Linked DNA regions of Homo sapiens: all the other regions are linked to region 1. Evidence: promoter capture Hi-C in 16 types of primary human blood cells and fetal thymus (Javierre and others, 2016). All regions are on one chromosome and are shown on one strand. Each heading gives the region's core, a stretch centred on a gene start or on the middle of the fragment in contact. The rest is flanking DNA. Distances are from core to core; before and after follow the strand shown. Region 1 holds the start of ARL2BP (ARF like GTPase 2 binding protein). Region 2 overlaps CCL17 (C-C motif chemokine ligand 17). Region 3 overlaps NLRC5 (NLR family CARD domain containing 5).

What was found. The method cuts DNA at HindIII sites, captures the fragments that hold promoters and counts their contacts. A CHiCAGO score of 5 or more calls a contact.
Region 2: a contact is called between a fragment that was not itself captured here and the fragment with the promoter of ARL2BP in region 1, in 8 of 17 cell types (endothelial precursors, naive CD4 T cells, non-activated CD4 T cells and 5 more). The highest score is 12.8, in endothelial precursors.
Region 3: a contact is called between a fragment that was not itself captured here and the fragment with the promoter of ARL2BP in region 1, in 1 of 17 cell types (endothelial precursors). The highest score is 5.1, in endothelial precursors.

The regions. Positions count from the first base shown.
Region 1 is chr16:57,243,728-57,247,258 of GRCh38, forward strand. It overlaps ARL2BP (ARF like GTPase 2 binding protein), which reads left to right and starts at 1,532. Exons shown (of 6, transcript NM_012106.4): 1 at 1,532-1,678; 2 at 2,353-2,414. The coding sequence starts at 1,641. LOC124903697 (a long non-coding RNA gene) reads right to left here. Exons shown (of 2, transcript XR_007065082.1): 2 at 2,088-3,531. RefSeq lists silencers at 1,251-1,630, 1,721-1,930. The HindIII fragment of the contact is 5,456 bases long and covers 1-2,417 here.
Region 2 is chr16:57,415,312-57,418,842 of GRCh38, forward strand. CCL17 (C-C motif chemokine ligand 17) reads left to right here. Exons shown (of 4, transcript NM_002987.3): 4 at 454-752. The coding sequence ends at 550. Among named protein-coding and RNA genes, the nearest start is that of CCL17, 12 kb to the left of the region's middle. RefSeq lists enhancers at 806-1,321, 1,322-1,837, 2,354-2,868. The HindIII fragment of the contact is 1,450 bases long and covers 1,167-2,616 here.
Region 3 is chr16:57,074,300-57,077,830 of GRCh38, forward strand. It overlaps NLRC5 (NLR family CARD domain containing 5), which reads left to right. Exons shown (of 49, transcript NM_001384950.1): 39 at 301-384; 40 at 2,520-2,603; 41 at 2,997-3,080; 42 at 3,420-3,503. Among named protein-coding and RNA genes, the nearest start is that of CPNE2, 17 kb to the right of the region's middle. The HindIII fragment of the contact is 964 bases long and covers 1,243-2,206 here.

The sequences.
Region 1 (3,531 bases), core at 282-2,781:
CAACATAGAGAAACCCCATCTCTACTAAAAACACAAAAAAATTAGGCATGGTGGCGCATGACTGTAATCCTAGCTACGCGGGAGGCTGAGGCAGGAGAATCGCTTGAAACCGGTAGGCGGAGGTTGTGTTGAGCCGAGATTGCACCATTGCACTCTAGCCCGGGCAGTAAGAGCGAAACTCCATCTCAATAAATAAATAAATTAGTAATAATTTATGTCACCTTGGTCACAGCTGTCACACCCGACTGTGTCTTTGTAACCATCTTTGTTTCAGATCCCACGGATATCTATTTTAAGTCCATTCAAAGATGTCTGCTAGGCCGGTTGTGGTGGCTCACACCTGTAATCCTAGCCCTTTTGGAGGCCAAGGTAGGTGGATCATCTGAGGTCAGGAGTTCGAGACCAGCCTGGCCAACATGGTGAAACCCTGTCTCTACTAAAAATTCAAAAATAGCCGGGCATAGTGGCACGTACTTGTAATCCTAGCTACTCGGGAGGCTGAGGCACGAGAATCGCTTGAACCTGGGAGGCGGAAGTTGTAGCCAGCCGAGATCGTGCCACTGCCCTCCAGCCTGGGCGACAGAGCAAGACTCCGTCTCAAAAAAATAAAAAATGTCTGCTAACCCATTCTGACTGGCCACCTGACCCTCAGTTCATACCTTAAACCCCTCTAGTTCCTCTAGTCATATACCACACTTTGGCCATAAGGTATCATGCAACTAAAGAGACACAATGCTTAGTTGTCCAATCAAGAGAAATCAGCTCAAACGAATCCTTTTTCAAAGTTTGGCAGTTTTGAAGAGGCCTTTTCCTGAAAGGTATCTGATTCCTGATTGCGTGGCTCAAAATAGTTCTTCAATTCTCATCTTGTATAATTAGTCAAGAAACCAATTACTGCCGAGTAATCTTTATGATGCGAAGATTATAACGTAAATTACAGGACATCGACTTCTTGCGATGGGGCTTTCCTTCCACGAGGGGTAGGAACTGTCTTGAAATCAGACGTCAGCATCACCTGGTTCAAGGGATAAGGGACTGGCTCTCCAGCGACTTGGCAACTTACAAGCGCTCTTTAAACACGCCTTAAACTACTTATTTAATCCTCCACACTCAGGGAGGCGCAATTTATTCTCGAGTTGCGAGTGAGGAAATTCTGGCTCGTGGCTTCGATTCCTTCATCCGTACAATGGGGGCGACTTGAGACGGAGTTCCCACACAACGGGTGCTCGCCGAAGCGCCGCATCCCTCCGCACTCCCTTCCGGGACTTCCTCTCCCTGTCTTGCCCCGCCCCGGCATCGGTAACGCTCGCCTGTGATTGGATGCCGGCCGGCCGTGAGGCGGTGGAAGGGGTTGCGGTGGCCATGGTGACAGGAGGCGGGGCGCCGCGCCCCTCCGGCAGTCACCGAGGCCCGGACCTGCGGCGTCGGCGGCGCGCGCAGAGGGCCAGGCGGGCGTAGAGGCCGGACCGACGCGTGGCGGCAGAGGGTATCCAAGGCCGGACCTGGCGCGCAGGCGCTGACCCGACCTGGCAGTGAGCTGGCCGCGGCCTTGGCTGAGAGGCCTTAACCCCGCCGGGCGGCCGCGCCCTGCATGCGAGTTGGGCCGCGGGCGGGGTTGGAGCCTACTCGGGGCGACTGCGATGGACGCCTTAGAAGGAGAGAGCTTTGCGCTGTCTTTGTGAGTAGCTCCTCCAGGGCGCAGGCGACTTGGGGCCGGAGGCAGCGGGCGTTCGCCCCGGGGCCTGACCCTATAAAACAGGTGTCCTTAGGGGCCGGGCCGGGCCGGGCCGGGCAGGGTGGGGGCCGCCAAGGCGCCGTCCCAGCTCCAGGCCTTCCTTTTGTAGAGTACTAAGGCTGCAGGTTTCAGGCCCCGCAGGACAGGAGTGCGAGGCGGGTGTCACCGTTGATCAGCGCCTCCATCACAATCCCCAGCCGCCAACCCTCAGCTGTCAGCAAAGCCTGGAGGGGTTGAGCGCCCGAGGCCCCTCCACCCCTCCCTGGCCCCCGCCTCCCGGACTCCTGACCAAATGACCCCCCCCGGCAGGTGTTTCGCCCGTGCCGGGTTCATGCTCACAAGCAGACAGGTATGGGGTGATAGCTAAGAGCCTGGAGAACAAGTTTTTATTAAAGTGGAGTCATGACATTGAACGTTCATGTCACAAACGTGCCGAGTGTGTTTTCTTCTGTTTGGACTTACTAGATCAGTCAGTCATTCTTAATCGTTGAAGATGGGTGATGGGAAGTTCGTTTTGCTACTCTTTTTTCTCTTGTGCATGTTTGAAAACGTCCATACTAAAAACATTTTTTTAATGCATTATTTGAAATAGCACCTAATCCAGGCATGTTTTTCAGCTCCTCCGCCTCTGATGCAGAATTTGATGCTGTGGTTGGATATTTAGAGGACATTATCATGGGTAAGCTTTTAAGATACTGTTTTTAAGGACTTGCTTGTTTCTTTAAGGACATTGAAATCAATTTGGAGAGTTAATTTTAAAAAGAGAAAACATCAAGCTGCCTGCAATTTTTAATGTAGCACAATGTAATACTTAAGTAAAGGCTTACTGCAGTTTGTCTTAGAAACAAACAGCCCAGTACTCCTGAAAACATCTAATAAGCATAGATTCAGAGGCTGGAAGGGACTGACTCAGGCTAATAGGGCACCAGCAGTGTGGCGTTCTTCGCAAAACTATAGGAAATAATGATCTACTCTATTTCTTATGTAGGGTAAGAGCAATTTCAATTTTAGATAGTTTTGAGTTTTAACATTTTCATGCCATAAAACACATAAAACCAGGCCAGGTGCGGTGGCTAACGCCTGTAATCCCAGCACTTTGGGAGGCCGAGGTGGGCGGATCACGAGGTCAGGAGATCAAGACCATCCTGGCTAACACGGTGAAACCCTGTCTCTACTAAAAATACAAAAAAAATTAGCCGGGCGTGGTAGCGGGCGCCTGTAGTCCCAGCTACTCAGGAGGCTGAGGCAGGAAAATGGCGTGAACCTGGGAGGTGGAGCTTGCAGTGATCCGAGATCGTGCCACTTCACTCCAGCCTGGGCGACAGAGCGAGACTCCGTCTGGAAAAAATAAAAATGAAAATAAACACATAAAACCATAACCATAAGCACACATGGCCATAAAGAAAACAAGGTATTAAGCTTCAGCTGGTTCTGTATTTTCCTAGGTTTTGAGTTCCTACTTGTGGATGTATTTGGGCATCCATGAAACCTGCTAAGTAACAGAGAAGCAGTAACAGTCCCCAGAGGTTTAAGACAAGTATGTAGGAGGGGAAAACTTACATTTGAGAAAATTCTGTTGACTTTAAGTTTTATGAGAATTGAGAAAAGAACACTGTTATTTGGTGTTATTGGCTGTATGGCTTAATCCATTTAGAATGAAAATTACTGACCAAGTTTTTATACCTTCAGGTATAAAGGTTCATGCCCTTAACTCCTGAATATAGATGTTTCATCATTAAGCTCGTTTCCCATGTGGACTTGGGGATTTCTGGGGAATACTGAAGAATCCATTCAGT
Region 2 (3,531 bases), core at 642-3,141, 170 kb after region 1:
CCCCAACCCCTGCAGGCTCCCCACACTGTGGGACCCAAAAGGGCCGCAGGCCATGAGGTCCAACCTATTCCTTGATTTGTGGTGAAATTGAGGCCCCGGGAGCAATGAACACCCCCAGGTCACACAGCTGGTCAGGGGCAATGTGGTCACCTCCCCCAGCCTGGGCCTGAGCCCTGCCCGCAGTCTCCACGTCCCAGGCTCTAGACTGTCTGGGGGCATGGGCAGGCTGAGGGGTGGGCACAAGTTCCTGCAGCCCTGGCTCCCTGGGAGGGTCGAGATTACTCGGGACAGAGCCTGAAGTCCCAGATCTGCCACCAATGCCCTGTGTGACAGCAGCAACTTCCTGCCCCTCTTGGAGCCTTGGAATCCTGGTCAGCACAGGGCGGGCCGTCCCAGGGACTCTGGGGGCCCTTCCCCCCCTGCCACTCCTGGTAACGTCCTCCTTCTGTGTAGTTTTGTAACTGTGCAGGGCAGGGCCATCTGTTCGGACCCCAACAACAAGAGAGTGAAGAATGCAGTTAAATACCTGCAAAGCCTTGAGAGGTCTTGAAGCCTCCTCACCCCAGACTCCTGACTGTCTCCCGGGACTACCTGGGACCTCCACCGTTGGTGTTCACCGCCCCCACCCTGAGCGCCTGGGTCCAGGGGAGGCCTTCCAGGGACGAAGAAGAGCCACAGTGAGGGAGATCCCATCCCCTTGTCTGAACTGGAGCCATGGGCACAAAGGGCCCAGATTAAAGTCTTTATCCTCAGTCTGTGTCAGCGTGTCTGTCCCCACAGCGCAAGATGCGCTTCCACTCCGGCCTGTCACTCTGGGAGGGTTCTCAGAGAACCTCTGGTCCTGCCCTGTGCAGGTCGGAAAGGGAAACTGAGGCTGAGAAGGGCACGTGGCTTCCGCAGACCACGCACCAGTGAGGGGAGGCCCTGGTGAGAGGCCCGGGCAGGGGCGGGGTTGGCGGGGTCCTGGGAGGCGGCCGCTGGATTCTCTCCCTACCCACCCCAAGGTCTCCCGGTTTCCCCCCAGCCCAGCTCCTGTTCTTGCCCCACGTGGAGCTGAGGACAAACTTCCCCGAGGTGCTGGAGTCAATTTCACAGACTGGCCAGGACCCTGCCGCAGGCCACAGCTCTGCCCAGTGCTGGGGAGCCCCCTGGCCAAGGGTGGGGGAAGCTTGTAGCCCTGTCCTTGCCTTCCCCTGCACTCACTGCAGTCCAGCTGGCCCGGCTCCTCCTGGCCCTGGCTCCCTCTCCCCGCTCAAACTCCAGACCCCAGCTCCAGGGCGAGGGGGCTCTGTGGGTCCTGGGCCCTCTGCCTGCGGCTGACTTCCTAGCCCACTCCAGGCTCAGGCAGGCGGGCGCCACGCGGCCCTGTGGTTCCTCCTGACTGAAGTGTGATCCCCACCCGGCCCTGGCTGCGCCCAGCCTGCCGGAAGCCGGCCCAGCACAACCGCCCACCGACTCGCTCCCCCAGCTCTTAGGGACTGCCCTGAAGCCGACCCCTGCTCCGCGTGGTTCTCTCATTGTGTGTGTGTGTGTGTGTGTGTGTGTGTGTGTGTGCGTGCGCGTGTGTGGCAGTCCCAGCTCCTCCATTAGGTTGAGAGCTCCGTGAGCCACTCCGGGGACCCCACACCCCTGTGCTAAAAAAGATGGGGACTAGAGGCTCAGGACACCCCACCCCCAGACCCCTCTGCCCATGCCCAGCTAAGGGCTGAGCACAGAGGAGTCGGGGCCTAAGCCTTCTAGTTCTCTCTCACTCTCCCAACCAGCGATGGGGCCGTGGCTTCTCTCTGAACACAGTTTGGCGGCAGGGGCGCGGGTCCTTCTCTTCCGAGGACCTTGTGGCGGGCATTGTTTGGTGGGGCTGCGGTTAGAAGGGCAATTTCCAGGCCCGGCTGTTGCCTCCTGCTGCTCCCTTGTGGCCAGTCAGCTCATTGCAGGGCAGATGATAGAACCCAAGTTTACTTTCCAGTACGGGCACAGCGATAACGAGGTTGATAAAACCAGTGAACTGGCTTGCCTGTGACTCTAGGGTCTCTTCAGCCGCAAGTGGGCTCATCTCCTGTCCTGATGCCGAGGAGGATCACTTGAACAACTGCCTAAGACCCAGAGTCCTGGGGATGGCCCAGTCTGAGTTCTTCATGGAAAATTGTCCTCTGAATCCACCGGGAGGAGGAAGGATGATCTAAAAAGGGAGGGAGGCAAGGAGAAGCTCCTAAGACAGCAAAGGCCAGAGACAGCCGGGGTCTGGACCCCTGCACCCTGCAGGCGAGAGCTGGAAGGACTCTCAGAGTGCAATGGCTCCATCTCAGCTCACTGCAACCTCCGCCTCCCAGGTTCAAGCGATTCTCCTGCTTCAGCCTCCTAAGTAGCTGGGATTACAGGCGCCCGCCACCACACCCGGCTAATTTTTTTGTATTTTTAGTAGAGACGGGGTTTCACCATGTCGGTCAGGCTGGTCTTGAACTCTTGGCCTTATGTGATCCACTCGCCTTGGCCTCCCAAAGTGCTGAGATTACAGGCATGAGCCACCGCGCCTGGCCTCCAGCAAACTTCGTTTAAAAAAGCAAGACCTTTTTTGTTTTTTCCCTACTGAAATCCTACTCAGAAGCCCATATTGTAAGCTTAGGTAAGTAGAGCTGCCGTGGAGGCCTGTGAGGAGGTGGGGAGTTGCCAGAGGGTCCCTGAAAGTGAGATAGGGTGGGGCATTGCATAAAGGCAGGGAAGAGGTGGATCCAGGACTGGCAACAAAACGCAGGATTCAGAATCCAAGTATTCACGAGCAGCATCCGGTGCAAGCTGGGGGATGGTGAGATGCAAGAGATAGGACAACTGCCATGTGACCTTAGGGCATTTTAAGGAGGTGTGACCTGGAGACTGCTGTGATTGGAAAGACTGCTGGGAGGGAAAAAGAGGAATGGGCAGGTTCGGGGTGAAAAGTGAGGAGAAGCGCCAGACTTATGTTGTTTCTTTCACCTGGTAGGTGCCTCCCCTCCTCCCCCACCCCACCCCTGCTTTTTTTTTTTTTTTTTTTTTTTTTTTTTTTCAGATGGAGTCTGGCTCTGTGACCCAGGCTGGAGTGCAGTGGTGCGATCTGGCTCACTGCAACCTCTGTCTCCCGGGTTCAAGCGATTCTCATGCCTCAGCTTCCTGAGTAGCTGGGATTATAGGTGTGCACCACCACACCTGGCTGATTTTTGTATTTTTAGAAGAGATGGGGTTTTACCATGTTGGCCAGGCTGGTCTCGAACTCCCGAGCTCAAGTGATCCGCCCACCTCGGCCTCCCAAAGTGCTGGGATTACAGGCGTGAGCCACTATTCTGAAATCCAGTTTCTCTTCAACGCTCAACTCAGTGCTGCCTCTGCCACAGCCAGCCTACTCAACCTCAGCTGTGTGTCCTCCACCTGCACCCAACGCTCACCTTAGTCTAATCCTGACCACACTCTACCCCTTGTAATTGGAGCTGCTTGGGTGATTTACCCAATAAACTCACTGAGCAGGTATTTGGGTCAGGAAACAGTACCAGACTCATTTAT
Region 3 (3,531 bases), core at 475-2,974, 170 kb before region 1:
AAGCCCTGAGTTTGGCCCACATTTTATGATCAATGTGTGACCGCCATTATTACGGATCATTAGTCTTGGTCCATGTGGTTCAGAACATAGAACTGCTGCCTGCCTGACCTCAGTAATTCATGCAGAGAAACAGCATTTGGACCTCCCAGTACAGTTCATTTTGTAGAATTTTTACACTGTGTGGATATAAGTGGCTGTCTTGGAGGTCCCTAGGCTTGCTAAGCACAGAGGCCTCAGACCCCCAGACTGGACAGTGCCCCACCCCCAGATGTCAAGTTCACCTGGCCTCCTCTTCTCCAGCCTCAGTCACCTTCTGCTGAACAGCTCCACCTTGGCCTTGCTTACTCACAGACTAAGCCAGATGACCTGCCTGCAGAGCCTCAGGTGAGTGACCGAGCGGCCCCATGGGAATGAGTGGGAAGAAACACTTCCCACTCAGTTGGGACCACATCCAGGGAAGCACTGAGGCCACCTCCCAGGGGATCCTTTGCGGATCCCTCCCAGGCCCATCCCTGTGCCCTCCCAGGTGGGTGCCCACTGCTCTTGCCTTCTAATGCCATCAGCTTCCTCCTGGTTACAAAAGTGGCCTAAAGGGCTTAGGCCCACGTCGTAGAACAACCCTTGAGGCACACACACAGTTCACCCTGGGCTCTTGTTAAAATGCTCATTCTGATTCCCCAGGTCTGGAATTCTGCCTAGACTGTGCTTTTTTTTTTTTTTTTTTTTTTTTTTTTTTTTTTTTTTTTTTGAGTTGGGGCCTCACTGTGTGGCCCAGGCTGGAGTGCAGTGGCAATGCACAGGTGCAATCGTGTTGCACTGCAGCCTCAAACTCCTGGGCGAACGTGATCCTCCTGCCTCACCCTCCTAAGCAGCTGGGACTACAGGCCTAAGGCGTTGCACCCAAACTTAGCATTTCTTTTTTTGTTTGTTTGTTTTTGAGACAGAGTTTCGCTCTTGTTGCCCAGGCTGGAGTGCAATGGCACAATCTCAGCTCACTGCAACCTCCGCCTCCCGGGTTCAAGCGATTCTCCTGCCTCAGCCTCCCGAGTAGCCGGGATTATAGGCATGTGCCACCACGCCCGGCTAATTTTTGTATTTTTGGTAGAGACAGTGTTTCTCCATGTTGGTCAGGCTGGTCTTGAACGTCCAACCTCAGGTGATCTGCCCACCTCGGCCTCCCAAAGTGCTGGGATTACAGGCGTGAGCCACCACGCCTGGCTTCAGACTCTGCATTTTCTAACAAGCTTCCGGGTGGTATCAATTCTGGGGGCCACGGTCAGCACTTTGAGTAGTGTGGGTCTAGACTCAGATGGGGTGGCCTTCCTACACTCCCTTTGTGATTTCACTCCCTGCTGCTAGGATAAATAAACATGACACTTACTTTCAATGTGATTTTTCAAAACATGAAATCTTGTGACTAAAAACAAATCCAAGCAGTGACACAAAGCATTGCTTTGTTTATATCCAAGTACACCTCCTACCCCCTACCTCGGGCAGAGCAGAGTAGGTAGGAAATGAGGTTAGAGAGTTCCAGGAGGTTATATCATATTGGACCATTTCACCCAAAATTAATTTACTGAAAGGTGATCCATTAAAGTGTATTTATTTATTTCTATTTTATTTTTATTTTTTGAGACACAGTCTCACTCTGTCGCCCAGGCTGGAGTGCAGTGGCATGATCTCACTTCACTGCAACCTCTGCCTCCTGGGTTCAAGCGATTCTGGTGCCTCAGCCGCCCAAGTAGCTGGGATTACAGGTATGCACCACCACGCCCAGATAATTTTTGTATATTTTTAGTACAAATGGGGTTTCACCATGTTGGCCGGGCTGGTCTCGAACCCCTGACCTCAAATGATCCACCTGCCTAGACTCCGAAAGTGCTGGGAATACAGGTGTGAACCACTGCTCCCAGCCCCATTAAAATTTAATTTGCAAAATAAAAGAAAGTAAAAACAACATGCAAACAAATACTTCCCAAGGGGCTAAGACCATTTGCCTCAGCTATTTATTGTTTTTTCCTACCCAGGCAGAGCAAGGTCAGGGCTCAGTAAAGACAATACCCTGGGTTTAAGGAAAAACCTACCATTTGCATGGATGAGAACACATATGCCCCTGAGAACTGATCTGCGTGAATCAGAGAATCCCACGTGAAAGTGGCATTCAGCCGGGCCAGCCCGGAGATCCCTGACACAGAGGCTGAGGTGAAGCTTGGCAAAGAAATGTAGAGACTCCTCCTGGGCCAGGGGCTCTGGATTTGTTTCCACCCAGCCTGCAAGTCCCTAAGTCTCTGGCCAGTCACAGCTCACTGCTGGCTCTCAAGTTTTCTCACCTGGACACTGGGGACAATAATTCCCACCTTGCTCACCACTCCCCACCTGCCATGACCCCCAGAAGTTTTGCTACCAGCATATGAATTCCTGGGCGTGTAAGGCTTTGCAAACTGTAGAGTTCTTAGCACAGCACCTGCAAAGGCCTTTAAGCTCCTGAAAGCCTCTTGGTCTATTCCCTGCTTTTCCAGACTGAACAGGAACAGTATCGGTGATGTCGGTTGCTGCCACCTTTCTGAGGCTCTCAGGGCTGCCACCAGCCTAGAGGAGCTGGAGTGAGTTGCCCATTCTGCCCCCAGACCCAGGACAATTTTGGCCGGGAAAGATGACAAGGGCAAGGGGCTACCTGAGCACGCCCTTTGCTTCTTCATCTCATCTCCTTCACCCACTTCTACACTGTGTAAACAACCTGGGGCCTAGAAGCTTGGGGGACCCAAAGACAGGATGTAAGAGTGTCAATTGTAGCAAGAGGGATTTAGGTCAGACAATGGGGAGAACATCCTAAACAGAAGCCAAGGGTTAGGAGCTGTCACTCAACATGGGGTGATGGGGCTCTCTGTGTGAGTCGAGGCCCTTCCTGGGACTTCAGCCTCCCCTTCTTTTTCTGGGAGTGGGGTGTGGACAAGATGAGACGGCAGAAGGCTGATGAAGCTGTTTTCTCCCCCAAGCTTGAGCCACAACCAGATTGGAGACGCTGGTGTCCAGCACTTAGCTACCATCCTGCCTGGGCTGCCAGAGCTCAGGAAGATAGAGTGAGTAGCCAGCCCTACAGAGGAGGGCCACAGGGGTCACACGATGGTCCTAGGAGATACTGGCCCCTAGCTGAGGCCAGCATGGTAAAATCTCCCCTGCGCCAACCTCAGTGTCCAGGCAGTGGGGCTCGGTGACCTCCTGGCCCTCACTGCGGGACCTTAAGCCACCCCAGCCCCTGCTCTTCTCTGGGCCTTTCTGCCTCATTGTCTGGGTAGGTGTGTGGTGTCGGGGGGTTGTCTCTTAGGCCCCCTGAAGCAGGGGTGGCAGACCCAGCAGATGTGCTGGGGTGTCGGGGAGAGGGGGCATCAGAGGACCTGATGGCTGCCCCCCTCCCACAGCCTCTCAGGGAATAGCATCAGCTCAGCCGGGGGAGTGCAGTTGGCAGAGTCTCTCGTTCTTTGCAGGCGCCTGGAGGAGTTGATGTGAGTGTCTGCCCAGGTGGCCTCTGCC